Regions from separate parts of the Homo sapiens genome. Here regions 1 and 3 are each linked to region 2. Evidence: promoter capture Hi-C in 16 types of primary human blood cells and fetal thymus (Javierre and others, 2016). All regions are on one chromosome and are shown on one strand. Each heading gives the region's core, a stretch centred on a gene start or on the middle of the fragment in contact. The rest is flanking DNA. Distances are from core to core; before and after follow the strand shown.

Evidence for each region. The method cuts DNA at HindIII sites, captures the fragments that hold promoters and counts their contacts. A CHiCAGO score of 5 or more calls a contact.
Region 1: a contact is called between a fragment that was not itself captured here and the fragment with the promoter of USO1 in region 2, in 1 of 17 cell types (non-activated CD4 T cells). The highest score is 5.2, in non-activated CD4 T cells.
Region 3: a contact is called between a fragment that was not itself captured here and the fragment with the promoter of USO1 in region 2, in 1 of 17 cell types (neutrophils). The highest score is 5.4, in neutrophils.

What each region holds. Positions count from the first base shown.
Region 1 is chr4:83,482,576-83,486,421 of GRCh38, reverse strand. ABRAXAS1 (abraxas 1, BRCA1 A complex subunit) reads left to right here and starts at 1,322. Exons shown (of 9, transcript NM_139076.3): 1 at 1,322-1,436. The coding sequence starts at 1,350. RefSeq lists a silencer at 1,107-1,596. The HindIII fragment of the contact is 4,128 bases long and covers 1-3,380 here.
Region 2 is chr4:75,723,110-75,727,207 of GRCh38, reverse strand. USO1 (USO1 vesicle transport factor) reads right to left here and starts at 2,631. Exons shown (of 24, transcript NM_003715.4): 1 at 2,323-2,631. The coding sequence starts at 2,388. It also overlaps a transcript of G3BP2 not described here. RefSeq lists silencers at 2,163-2,340, 2,675-2,844 and enhancers at 2,425-2,504, 1,601-2,520, 2,521-3,441. The HindIII fragment of the contact is 5,085 bases long and covers 1-4,098 here.
Region 3 is chr4:82,364,380-82,368,557 of GRCh38, reverse strand. The region is part of intron 2 of HNRNPD (heterogeneous nuclear ribonucleoprotein D); the gene reads left to right. Among named protein-coding and RNA genes, the nearest start is that of HNRNPD, 7.5 kb to the left of the region's middle. RefSeq lists an enhancer at 2,017-2,688. The HindIII fragment of the contact is 2,515 bases long and covers 496-3,010 here.

The DNA of each region.
Region 1 (3,846 bases), core at 67-2,566, 7.8 Mb before region 2:
GATTTTCTCCAGGGCACATTAATAAATTTGTATGCCAGTCGGGAGCGCCTGTAATCCCAGCACTTTGGGAGGCCGAAGGGGGCAGATCACCCGAGGTCAGGAGTTCGAAACCAGCCTGGCCAACATGGTGAAACCTTGTCTCTAATAAAAATACAAAAAAAATAAATAAATAAGCCGGGCTTGGTGGCACGTGCCTGTAATCCCAGCTACTCAGGAGGCTGAGGCAGAAGAATCGCTTGAACCCGGGAAGTGGAGGCTGCAGTGAGCTGAGATGGTGCCACTGCACTCTGGCCTGGGTGACCAAGCGAGACTCAGTCTCAAAAAAATAAAAAATAAAATAAATTCGTATCCCTTTTCCTTCTGTTCATCTTTTCTTTTGTTAGTTCACTCCAGTGAACCTTCAGAGGGCAGAGCTTTCCCTTCACCCCTACAAAATGAAGGCAAGAAACTTAATTCTAGGGAATAAATATATAATCATTAATTATATACATATGTATTGTGTGTTACGCAGCCACAGACAACTGCTTGACAACAAAACCCACAAATGTGCCACACTAATTCAGTAGTCTGCTATTATGCTTACTTTCAGTCATTTAAGAAACATACCTTTACGTGTGTGTGTGTGTGTGTGTGTGTGTAAAATACATTTGCCAAGCCCTGGTCCACTCACCTTACCATTTACATTAAATGAACCAGCTTACTATGATTATGCCTATCATTAAACTGTCAGAACATTAAATATCCATGTATTGTTTAAATTAGGCTGAAGTTTTCTAAAAGCAAGGGAACACACACATGCACACACACAAACACACAGACACAGAACATGGCTAGAGAGTTCTAGCAAAGACAATCCCCAAATGGTTATTAGTATTCTGTAAGTTTCAGTGAGTGAAGGGTGCTAAAATGCAGCTTGAAAACCAAAACCGTGGCATATCCACTGTGGCATCGTAATGTTGCTACTCAACTCTTTTATTCTTGTAATCATTGCTTGTCTTAAAATGACCCTGTCAACCGTGTTCATTTTGATAGCTTTGCATGTTTGTGACAGGTCGCTCAGCAGGCGCAGGCCACCAAAAGCAATTCGCAGCCCTCTGCAGTGGTACCGACATGCAGCGGCCTTCCGGGAGAGGCCGGCAGCAGAAGCGAAGGAGGAGCCGAGCGCGCGGCTGGGGACCCGCCCGCGCCCGCCCTCAGCCCCCTCGCCCCGCCCCTCTGCGGAGCGCGCAGCAGCCCGTGCGCCGGCGCAGGCCCCGCCTCCTCGCTGGGCCCCGCCTCGCTGCCACCACAGGGTCTTGCCTCCGCGCGCCCCGCCCTCGTCCTCTTGTGTAGCCTGAGGCGGCGGTAGCATGGAGGGGGAGAGTACGTCGGCGGTGCTCTCGGGCTTTGTGCTCGGCGCACTCGCTTTCCAGCACCTCAACACGGACTCGGACACGGTGAGCCGAGGGACGGGGCGGGGTCCGGCGTCGCCTGGGAAGAGCCCTGCGCGCGGCCTGCCTCCCCGCTGTTGCTCCGGTCCCCGCCCGCTCCCCCGACGCCGCCGCGCCTCCTCCCTGCGGTCGCGGCTCTGCCTTCTCTCCCCCTCAGCGGTCCCTGAGGTGCCTCGTGCCCACGAAGTCTTCTCCAGCATTAGCCCTCCCTCTGCTATCCTCCGTTATTTCCCTTTTCCGACCCAAGTGTCCCACACGCTCCCATCTTTCCTCGGCGCCCCTGTAGCTGTGGAAACTTGGGCGTGAAAAGATGGAAAGTTCACGGAGCGTCTTTCCGCTGCTCTGCGGAGCCTGCGGTAAACTTTCCGTTTCTCGCGACGCCCGACAGGCGTTTGCAAAACCAGGCGGACTTTTTCATGCAGAGCAGCGTCTGTGCGTGTTTGTTGCGATGGTAGGATGGTAAGGGAATAAAAATAGATGTTGCGTCCAGTGGCAAATCTTAGTGGATGGAACAGCTTAATCTGGTATATCAGATATCTTTTTATTTGCGTTATTAAATTTGTTAAAACAGTTTTTAAAAGTACGTTGCCTATTTTCTAAAAGTTCTATGAAATTAAAGAAACGCTGTAAAACGTTGAGCTCGGAAGTAGTTAATGTCCTGTAGCACTTTCAGTAACTTGCAGAAAGAAAGTCTAAGCATCTGAAATACACTTCCCTGCTGTGTGGTACAGTTCGGAGAATACCCTGCTGAACAATGCCTAGTAATTTCTGCTAAGTTCATTTTAAGATATAACGTCTATTTTACTCAAAATTGCCTTAATATAGGTCGGGCGCGGTGGCTCACGCCTGTAATTCCAGCCCTTTGGGAAGCCGAGGCGGGTGAATCACCTGAGCCCACGAGTTCGAGACCATCGGGGACAACGTAGTGAGACCCGGTCTCTACAAAATCTAAACATTACAAAATTGCTCTTTGGCACAATCCTAATAAAGGTTGGAATTGGTATGTTTTATGTATACAATTTCAGATAACCTTACAAAGTAATACCTAATAAAGAACAAATATATGACCATTTAAAATATATGTGTAGCTGTGGAAATTATTTTGGAATACCTGTAGTGTAGATAGAGTGGGACCGTAAATCCTCGGTAGCTTAAACGATTAGCCCTTGGGAAGTACCTGAGTGCTAGGGAGGCCCCTGTTTCTCAGATCTTTTTCCTGAAGTCTTTAAAGGGTGGTTTTTCTGGCTAGTTGCACTTGCATTGCCCCCCTGCTTCCCTTCCCTGAGTTCGTCTTTTGAGTATCAAAATCAAGAACACTAGATTCTGGATATCCCCCCGCGTGATTCCAGTAAAGACTCACATTATGGAAATAATCCTTTTTTACTTTTAGGGGAAAAAAGCATTATTAATTATAAAGAATATAAAATATTTCTGTAATCACAGCACTTTGGGACGCGGAGGCAGGAGGATCATTTGAGCCCAGGAGTTCAAGACCAGCGTGGGCAACATAAGGAGACCTCATGTCTACAAAAAAATTTTAAAAATTAGCCCGGCGTGGTGGCACGTGCCTGTAGACCCAGCTACTTGGAAGGCTGAGGCAGCAGGATTGTTTGAGCCTGGGAGGTCAAAGCTGCAGTGAGTAGTGATTGCACCGCTGCACTCCAGCCTGGGTGATGACAGAGCTAGACCTCTTCTCAAAAAAAAAAAAAAAAAAGATATAAAATCTTCATTGTCAAGCACATTGGGTCTTTAAGTGTGCCTAGAGAAATTGAATTCCCCAAAACTCAGATAAATTACCACTGGGGTGGCAGAATACAAGTAGTTTTAAAAGAATCGGGCTCACAGCACTCCTTTTAGAAAGCAGACTCTGAAATTGAATTTAAATCTTTCATATTGTGCATGAGTTTTAATCAGAAAACACTAATCTTGTCATTTCGTACCTTAGAAGCTTTCTGTAACTCCCAGAAGCACATGTGGTTAAATCCAGAGTAGTCATTCGGGGTGTCCCATTATTGGCTCGTTCTTATTTATCTTTGATTTCCTTCTGCTCCAAGGCAAAGTGCTCTGCTCATTCTTCAGTGTGTGCTCATTTCTGGCTTTAAGTCTTATATGCTTCCAAGTGTGCCCAGTGCTTCATGCTCTGCCTACACAAATATTGCCCATAGCTTTAGTCTAATCTGTAGCCTCCCCAGGGCTACAGGGCTAATCTGTAGCCTCCCCAGGGCTACTCTGATTATTTCAGGCTAGACTAATCTCTTTCCCTTCCTCTCCTCTTTATTTCTACTTTTTTTCTTTTGAGGCAGAGTCTCACTCTATCGCCTGGGCTGGAGTGCAGTGGCGTGATCATAGCTCACTGCAGCCTCAACCTCCTGGGTTCACGTCATCCCAAGTAGCTGGGACTACAGGCATGTGCCAC
Region 2 (4,098 bases), core at 1,382-3,881:
TGACTATAAAATGAAGAGGCTCTATCTGGGACTTTCTAGCTTTAAAATCCTATACACTGTGAATTCTATTCCATCTTTTCTACAGAAGTCACTGTGACAAGGCCAATAATAACAAAAACAGGAAAGGGTATTCTTCGTTCAACCCACACATAGTAAAAATTACCTCTCATTATACATCTACTAAGTGCCAGGCTCTTTCTACTTATTTCACTTAATCTTCATTACATCCTAAAAAGCAGGCATTTTCCTCATTTTACTTAGAGGGTATTAGCTATCTCTTACATATCCAATCCAATCAGGGGTGGAAAGCCAGGATTCAAATCAAAGTCTAACTCCACAAAGCAAGCTGTAATAAACCATATTTCATAACCTGGTGCCACAAACACAAATATCAGACAAAAAAGTGGTGGGCTGTGATTATGGTATGACTCTGGTAATCTAGACAGAACATGATCTTCTAGTAGGGTAGCTCAGGCTGCCTTGTTGCCAAGTGGGAATGGATGAGTGAAGCCAAATGTGTGCGTGTGTTACAGTGAGAGACAGAAAAGTGATTTTCAAATGAAAGAAACAGATTTACCGGCTTTCATCTTATGCTTTAAACAATTCTAACCAGACCTGCGCAGTTATTTTTTTTTTTTTTGAGATGGAGTCTCTTCATGCTGCCCAGGCTAGTCTCAAACTCCTGGGCTCAAGCGATCCTCCTGGCTTAGCATCCCCTTAGCTGGGATTATAGGCCTGTGTCACTGCGACTAGCTGCAGTTAATTTTAGTAATACTATATAAAGTTCCCAAAAAGTATTGAAATACAGGCATGAGCAATAAAGTGAAGGCTTTGAAGTAAGGTACCTCTTGGTTGAATCCTGGCTCTATTATTAGCAGTGTGACATTGGTCAAGTTACTTCACCCCTTTTTTTTTTTTTTTTTTTTGAGACAGAGTTTCGCTCTTGTTGCCCAGGCTAGAGTGCAATGGCACGATCTCTGCTCACCGTAACCTCCGCCTCCCGAGTTCAAGCGATTCTCCTGCCTCAGCCTTCCGAGTGGCTGGGATTACAGGCATGTGCCACCACGGCCGGCTAATTCTGTATTTTTAGTAGAGACGGGGTTTCTCCATGTTGGTCAGGCTGGTCTCGAACTCCCGACCTCAGGTGATCCGCCGGCCTCAGCCTCCCAAAGTGCTGGGATTAGAGGCGTGAGCCACCGCGTCCGGCCTACTTCACCCCTCTCAGTCTCATTTTTTGACTTTTAAGGTGAGAATACTCTCACCTATCTTGCAGGGTAGTTAACGATTAAAGCATAATGTGGAATATAAAGAGCTCAGCACAGAACCTAGCACAAGGTAAGAGCCTGACAAATGAAAGCTACTATATTATCCCTCAGGATCCCATTAACAAAGTTAGCCATTAAAGTGTTATACTTAGTCTCTTTTATGTAGATCTAAAATTCTTCTCAAATAAAAAGTTTATTTCAAAAAGGCATACACCCTCGATTCCATTAAACACTAACCAAACTTCAAAATAAGTGTATTCTAAACCTAGAATCTAAGCAACTATTAAATAATGTTTTCAGCGGCTAACCATTTTTTTTTTTTTTTAAATAACGCCGCAAATCATGTCATTAGGAGTTCAGGCAGAAAGCGGTGGACGTGTCCCCAAAGCAGTTTGAGCGCTTAAGATCCCTACTACGTTCAAGGTAGCATTTGCCAAATGATATATATTTGGGTGAGCCCGAAAAGCCGGATCTGAACAAATAACACCAGGCAGAACGACCGCTCTTCCAGTTGATGGGACAGGAGCAGGTGGATTTGTCCTTCAAAGAATATCGTTTTATTCTTAGCCAAATGCTCTCACCAACAGCTGGGTTTTAAACCTTCTCGCAGTTTTCCCCAACGCCCCAGTTTCAGACTGCGAGGGAGGGAGCAGGACTTCAGGCTCCTCTCGGCCAGTGCAGACGAGCGAAAGAGAAAGAGGGAGGGGCCCACGGCCCCGAGGGGCGTGGGAGGCAGTTCGGGCCAGCTCGGCCGCGCATCCGTCCCTTCCCGTGCGGTACCACCTGCGGACCACTCTCCTAGCCCGAGCTTCAGGGCCTACAGAGCTGCGGGGCGCGGCCGCCGTCAGTCCGGCCGAACGGCAGCAATGGGGACTGAGCTGGGGGCGTGATTGAATAACTCTGGGATTTCAGGAGCGGAAGGAGGGCAAAGGGGGAGGCGGCATGTGGATGCCCCCTCCATGGTGGGACGCTGGAGGTGACCTTCGGGTCTCCGAGTGCTCCGTCCCCGTCCCTGCCCGGACCCCTTCCCAAGTCCCAGACCCGCTGCTCCTCTCACCGTCTCGGCTTCTGTGTGCTGGGGTCCGGCACTCTGACCCCCCATTACCCCGCGGAGGAAATTCATCTTGCCGTTCAGCCACCAGGTTTACCGGCCCCTCCGGAAAAAAAAGAAGACAACTTCCCCCGCCCTCCGCAGGGCCTGGGCCCCAATCCCGCACTCTACACACTCCTACTGCTGCCACCACCGCCTCCAACTCGGCGGCCACTCCAGCCCTCTAAGCCCGGAAACAGCCGCCAGCAGCGGCCAAGATGCGCATGCGCGGGGACGTGGCATTACGTGGCGGCTCGAAGGTTGAAGGCAAAAGGGGAGCGGAGGCGAGAGGAACCTCTTAGCTAGGTTCCGCCGAAGCCCCACCCACTGCGCAGACCCCGCCTCCCACCGCAGGGGCACGCCTCCTACCCCCACCCTTCGCGGATTGATCCTGCTGGCCGCAGCCACCCACGTGGTGGAAGCCCGGCCCTGCAGGCTGGAGAGGATTTGATTAGACTACGCGTTTCGACTTGCAGGGTGTTTAATCGTCGCCAAGCGGGACTTACTGCAAGCTATCAAATCTGAGGTCTTATTTTGTTGAGTCGAAAGTGAAATTTTCCTTTGGCCAACGTGACAGGTAAGGCTTCCTGGCGCCTGAGAGGGTTCGCTTGGTTTGACGGTTTACTGGTACCAGCATTGTGGCTTTCTGATCCCGGTAAATTGCATTTCTTTACAGGGCTTTGTTTGGTGGTAAAAAGGGTTACTAGACACCCCTCATTCCACTGCCACTGGAGGGCGCATTTCTCAGCTCTTGCTCTTCAAACCTGCTGAAAGGAATTCCTAGATCTAAACACCAGGTACACCTCTATTTTCAAGTGTCGTCAGGAGGAAACCCATCAAACCCTACATTTAGCTTACTAGAGAAATACATTGTTCTGCTGTGTCAGTTTGGCGAGTAACATAATGTTTCGTTATTAACTCTCAACCCCTGTGTTTTCAGTTTTTTTTTTTTTAACATGAAAAATTGTCATTTTCTCTAATTGGTATGCCTGTTCCTTTGGCAGTGAGGTTGTCAGTACACATGCTTCTGGAATAGTCTTGTAAATTTCTTGAGGCTAAAAAGCACAGGTCTAGTTAGCTAACTGACTCATGCACCTCTCCCCTTGGATTCCCCACAGGTCTCAGATTCAGCATTTAAAATTGAACTCGTCATCTTTCCCTGCCTCCCTTAAAGAAAAAAAGTCAATATGCTGCTTCTACTGTGTGCGTGCCGTGCTCAGTAGTACCACTGTCCAAATAATTGCCTAAGCTAGACAGAGGAAGCTGGGAAGAATCTTAGACTCTGGCTTTCCACCCACACATGTCCAATCAATAGTCATGTCCTATCATTTCTATTTATAGAATATTTCTCAAATAGGTGTTCTGCTCTCCATCCTCTGTGCCTGTGACATAGATTATGTTCTTCTCATCATTTCTCATTGAGATGACAGCAACAGCCTCCTAATTAGTTTGTCTGCATTCAGCCCTGGCTTCCTTCCAGTCCAATCTCCAGTCCATCCTTGGGTGAGACTAACAACAACAAAACATCTGTTCATGTCATTCCTCTTAAAATCCTCCAGTTGTTCCCCATTCTGTCCAGAATAAAGTGCAAACTCCTTAGTTTGTCATACAGGCCTGTTATGATTTAGCTCCTGCCTACTTTTTCAGCTCCTGCCTCCCCCACATACTCTGGGCATTTTTCTCAGACCTGGATATGCCCTTCCCTTCCTTTCTCTTCATCAAGCAAACTCCTGCTAATTCCTT
Region 3 (4,178 bases), core at 504-3,003, 6.6 Mb before region 2:
TTAAATACTTCTCACTGTAAATTTTCATCTATTATGAAAGATACTAAAAATAATCTCGTTTTTTAAGTTTGGAATTGGGAGAATGTCATTGAAGTTTTTCAGTGCTTGTTTTTGAGATACACATACTTTGCCTTAAATCTGGGGTTTTTTCCCTTAAGCCATGTGACCCTTTCTACAAACTCAGTGTATGTTTTTAATATTTCCTGGGTACTCTGCTATCGTCCTAATACATAATATTAGGGTAAGGCTGCCCTAATACGAGAACATTTTGAGTATACTATTGAGTATACATTTGAGTATACATATTGAGTATACTATTTATGCCAACGTGAAGGATGTGATTAGTTTTAGCCTTCAAGTCATAATACATACCATGCTTGAAAGCATTTAAAAAGGAATAGAGTAATTTTTTTTCCCATTCCACTTGGAAGCTGTGTACCTCAAGTGTGTGCACATTTACAAATGGGTGAAACATAACTTATGTTAGTCCAAGCTTGATTTGACTTCAGTTCTGCTTCAACGTTTTAGTAGATAGGGCACTGAACTGGATGCTGAAAGCGTGGGATCTCTTTCTGTTGCTTCACTTCCAACAGTGTGGTTTCAGGTAATACGACATGTTTGTTACTTGGTTTGCTGATCTATGTGTTGGAAACAATGCTCACCACAGGAGGATTGACTACATAGCCTGCTTTCATAGCTTGTGTGTATTTATCCAGTGCCCTAATAGTTGATACTGCCAGTGATTTACTCCTGTGGAGTAAAGGTAAGCATGTTTTAGTTTCTGGAGTATTATATTGTACGTTGGAGCTAGGTATTTAAGAATATTTGGGGGTGGGGAGGGAAGACTCCAATTTACTGGTGGTGCTTGGCCAGTAATCAAGGTGACAGTTTAAGTATTGGGTCTTGCACTGTAAACTCCTGCTTATCTAGACTTCAGACTACCACAGAGCCCACACAGCCAGGAAGTCTGTCTCCCCATTTAGTCTTATGAGCAAGATAGATGAAGCCATGAGAAAATATACTCAAAAAGCAACCAACAGACAATGTCATGGAATGAATCTCCTACAGATTTTTCCTTACACTTTTGAAAAGTAACATGATTTTAAAACGTTGGAAAATTCATCAAGGTACAAATCATTTTCTGACTTCAGCATTGATACCTAAATTGATTTCCAGTACACAGTTTTATAGAATTGTGAATATGTAGTAATCTCAGTTAACCAGAACCTTAACCTTCAGGTTAAGGAAAATACCTATTCCTTAACCTCTAGGTAAATGGGAGTTTACCTTACAAAGCTGATTGAGAGCTTATTTAAAACGTAAACATACAAGATGTCATTGCTTCCTTGTAGTGAAGTGAAAAGGAGGTATTGGATTAAGCATTTAAAGTTAATTAAAGTAGTGGCTCGTGCCTGTAATCACTGGCTACTCAGAAGTCTTGAGGTATGAGGATCATTTCATGCCAGGATTTCTAGACCAGCTAGGCAACATAATATGACCCCTGTTTCTTTAAAAAAAAAAAAAAAAAAAAGGCTAGTGTGTTGGGGGGTGTGTTTGTAGTTGTAGTTACATCTACTCAGGAGGCAGAGGCAGGAGAATGTGTTGAGCCCAGGAAGGAGCTCAGGGCTGCAGGAAGCTATGATGGAGCCACTGCATTTTGATAGTGAGACCTGGTCTCTTAAAGTGTTTTATTTTTAGGCCAGGCGTAGTGGCTCACACCTGTAATCTCAGCACTTTGGGAGGCCAAGATGGGTGGATCACCTAAGGTCAGGAATTGGAGACCAGCCTGGCCAACATGGCGAAACCCCAGCTCTACTAAAAATACAAAAATTAGCCAGGTGTGGTTACATGCGCCTGTAGTCACTCAGGAGGCTGAGGCGGGAGAATCACTTGAACCCTGGAGGCGGAGGTTGCAGTGAGACAAGGTTGCACCACTGCATTCCAGCTTGGGCAACAGAGCAAGACTCCGTCTCAAAAAAAGAAAAAAAAAGTTTATTTAAAAAACTGTCATGTTGGCCGGGCGCGGTGGCTTATGCCTGTCATCCCAGCACTTTGGGAGGCTGACGCAAGCGAATCACCTGAGGTCAGGAGTTCGAGACCAACCTGGCCAACATGTTGAAACCCTGTCTCTACTAAAAATACAGAAATTAGCCGGGCATGATGGTGGGCATCTGTAGTCCCATCTACTTGGGAGGCTGAGGCAGGAGAAGAGCTTGAACCCGGGAAGCAGAGGTTGCAGTGAGCCAAGATCGCGCCACCGCACTCCAGCCTGGGCGACAAAGCGAGACTCTGTCCCCCTCCCAAAAAAACTGTCATGTTTCATTTATTAGATGTTTATTTTTTCAACTTCGCTTTTTAGTAGTCATTTAGTTAGGTTCATTCTAAAGTGTGAAGTAATGAGATTTAATACAGAGAAGTCTCTGAAAATGTTTGGTCCATTGTATATTAGTCTTGAATAAATGGAATTCTTTTTCACACTTACCTTGAAAATGTCATCTGTAGAAAGCTGGGGGAGAGGAATACCTATTCTTTAATGATGGGGAAATAATACCAAAATTTATATTTTTATTGACTAAAGTGTTTTTTGGGGAAGATTTGTTATTGGCTAACCTTAATGTCTCATTAGTTTTAAATAGTTAAAAAAAGTGGGCTGGGTGCGGTGGCTCACGCTTGTAATATAGCACTTTGGGAGGCTGAGGTGGGCAGATTGAACCCAGGAGTTCCAGACCAGCCTGGGCAACATGATGAGATCCTGTCTCTACAAAAAAAAAAAAAAAAAAAAAAAATTAGCTGGGCCTCGTGGTGTGCACCCATAGTCTCAGCTACCCAGGAGCTTGAGATGGGAAGATTGCTTGAACTTGGGAGGCAGAGGTTGAAGTGAGCCAGGATCACACCATTGCACCACAGCCTGGCAATAGAGCGAGACTCTGTCTCAAAAAAGTGGTTTTCATGAATTTTATACCAGATCAGATCTAAAAAGGCTGGTTAGTATTTGAACTCGATGAAAGCTTGTCAAGCTCTCTCCCAAGGTAGTTTTCATACAACTTGTAAAATACCCTAACGTGTGATATTATCTAGTTGCATTGTAACCTCCTCCCTTCCCCTTAGGTAACTAGTGACTTAGCTTTAGTTTGTCATTTTAGGATTTTAGAAGAATAATTATGATGGATAAAATACTGGAAAAATTCAGTAAGGATTTAATGGTGTGCTTGAGTAACATTACTTTAAAAGATGACAGTGATTGGTCATTTATGTTTTATACCTGAAATGTATATCAGGTTGACATTCTGTTGTATTTTTTAAACTGTCAGAACTTGTTATAAAGCCATGTATGTAAGATCATAAGTTGTTAGGAAGTGTTTAAAAGTTAAAGGATTGGCTGGGTGTGGTGGCTCATGCCTGTAATCCTAGCACTTTGGGAGGCTGATCGCTATGTCCAGGAGTTCTGTGACTAGCCTGGGTAACAGAGCAAGATCTCGTCTCTAAAAAAGTAAAAATAATACGAAGTTATAGAACATAGAAAAAGAATACTATTCCAAAATTGGGAGTGAGTATAATGGCTAACTTTTTACCTTGAATAAGGTGTTTGACAATAAAGACTTATTAGGGGAGGTATCTTGGAATAAAATAGTTAATATTGACTGGGAATGTTAAAAACCTAGTGACCTAAATAGTCCAGAGAATAAGTTTATTGATGGGGAAAAGCCAGGATTATTAAATCGGAACATTTTCCACCAGCCAGGATTGCTCCATGTATATTTCCTTTTATGTTTTAAATTATTCTTTACTAAAATTACTGGCATAAATGTAGGGTAGACCAAGTCATCAAGGTGATTTTGGAAGCTACATTTAAAGGGTCTTAGTTGAAATACCACCTAATTTTTAGTTTATATATTTTTTTACATGGACTATTTAAAAATTTCTGGGTTATTTCAAGTTGGCAGCATTGAAAATATTAGAATATGTTTATATAAAACTCATTGTGGCCTTTTCCTTTTAATGTTGGAAAGTTTATAAAGCCTATGCAGTTTTAAAAAATTAAGCCATTGAGTAAATAAAAAGTTTGCTTTATTAAATTATGTTTAGATAGTGCTTATAGTGCTTTACCCCTTCAAAATAGTAACTTCTATCAATCATTTAGGATGTGTGTCAGACTATTCTGTGTCCTTTAAGTGTGT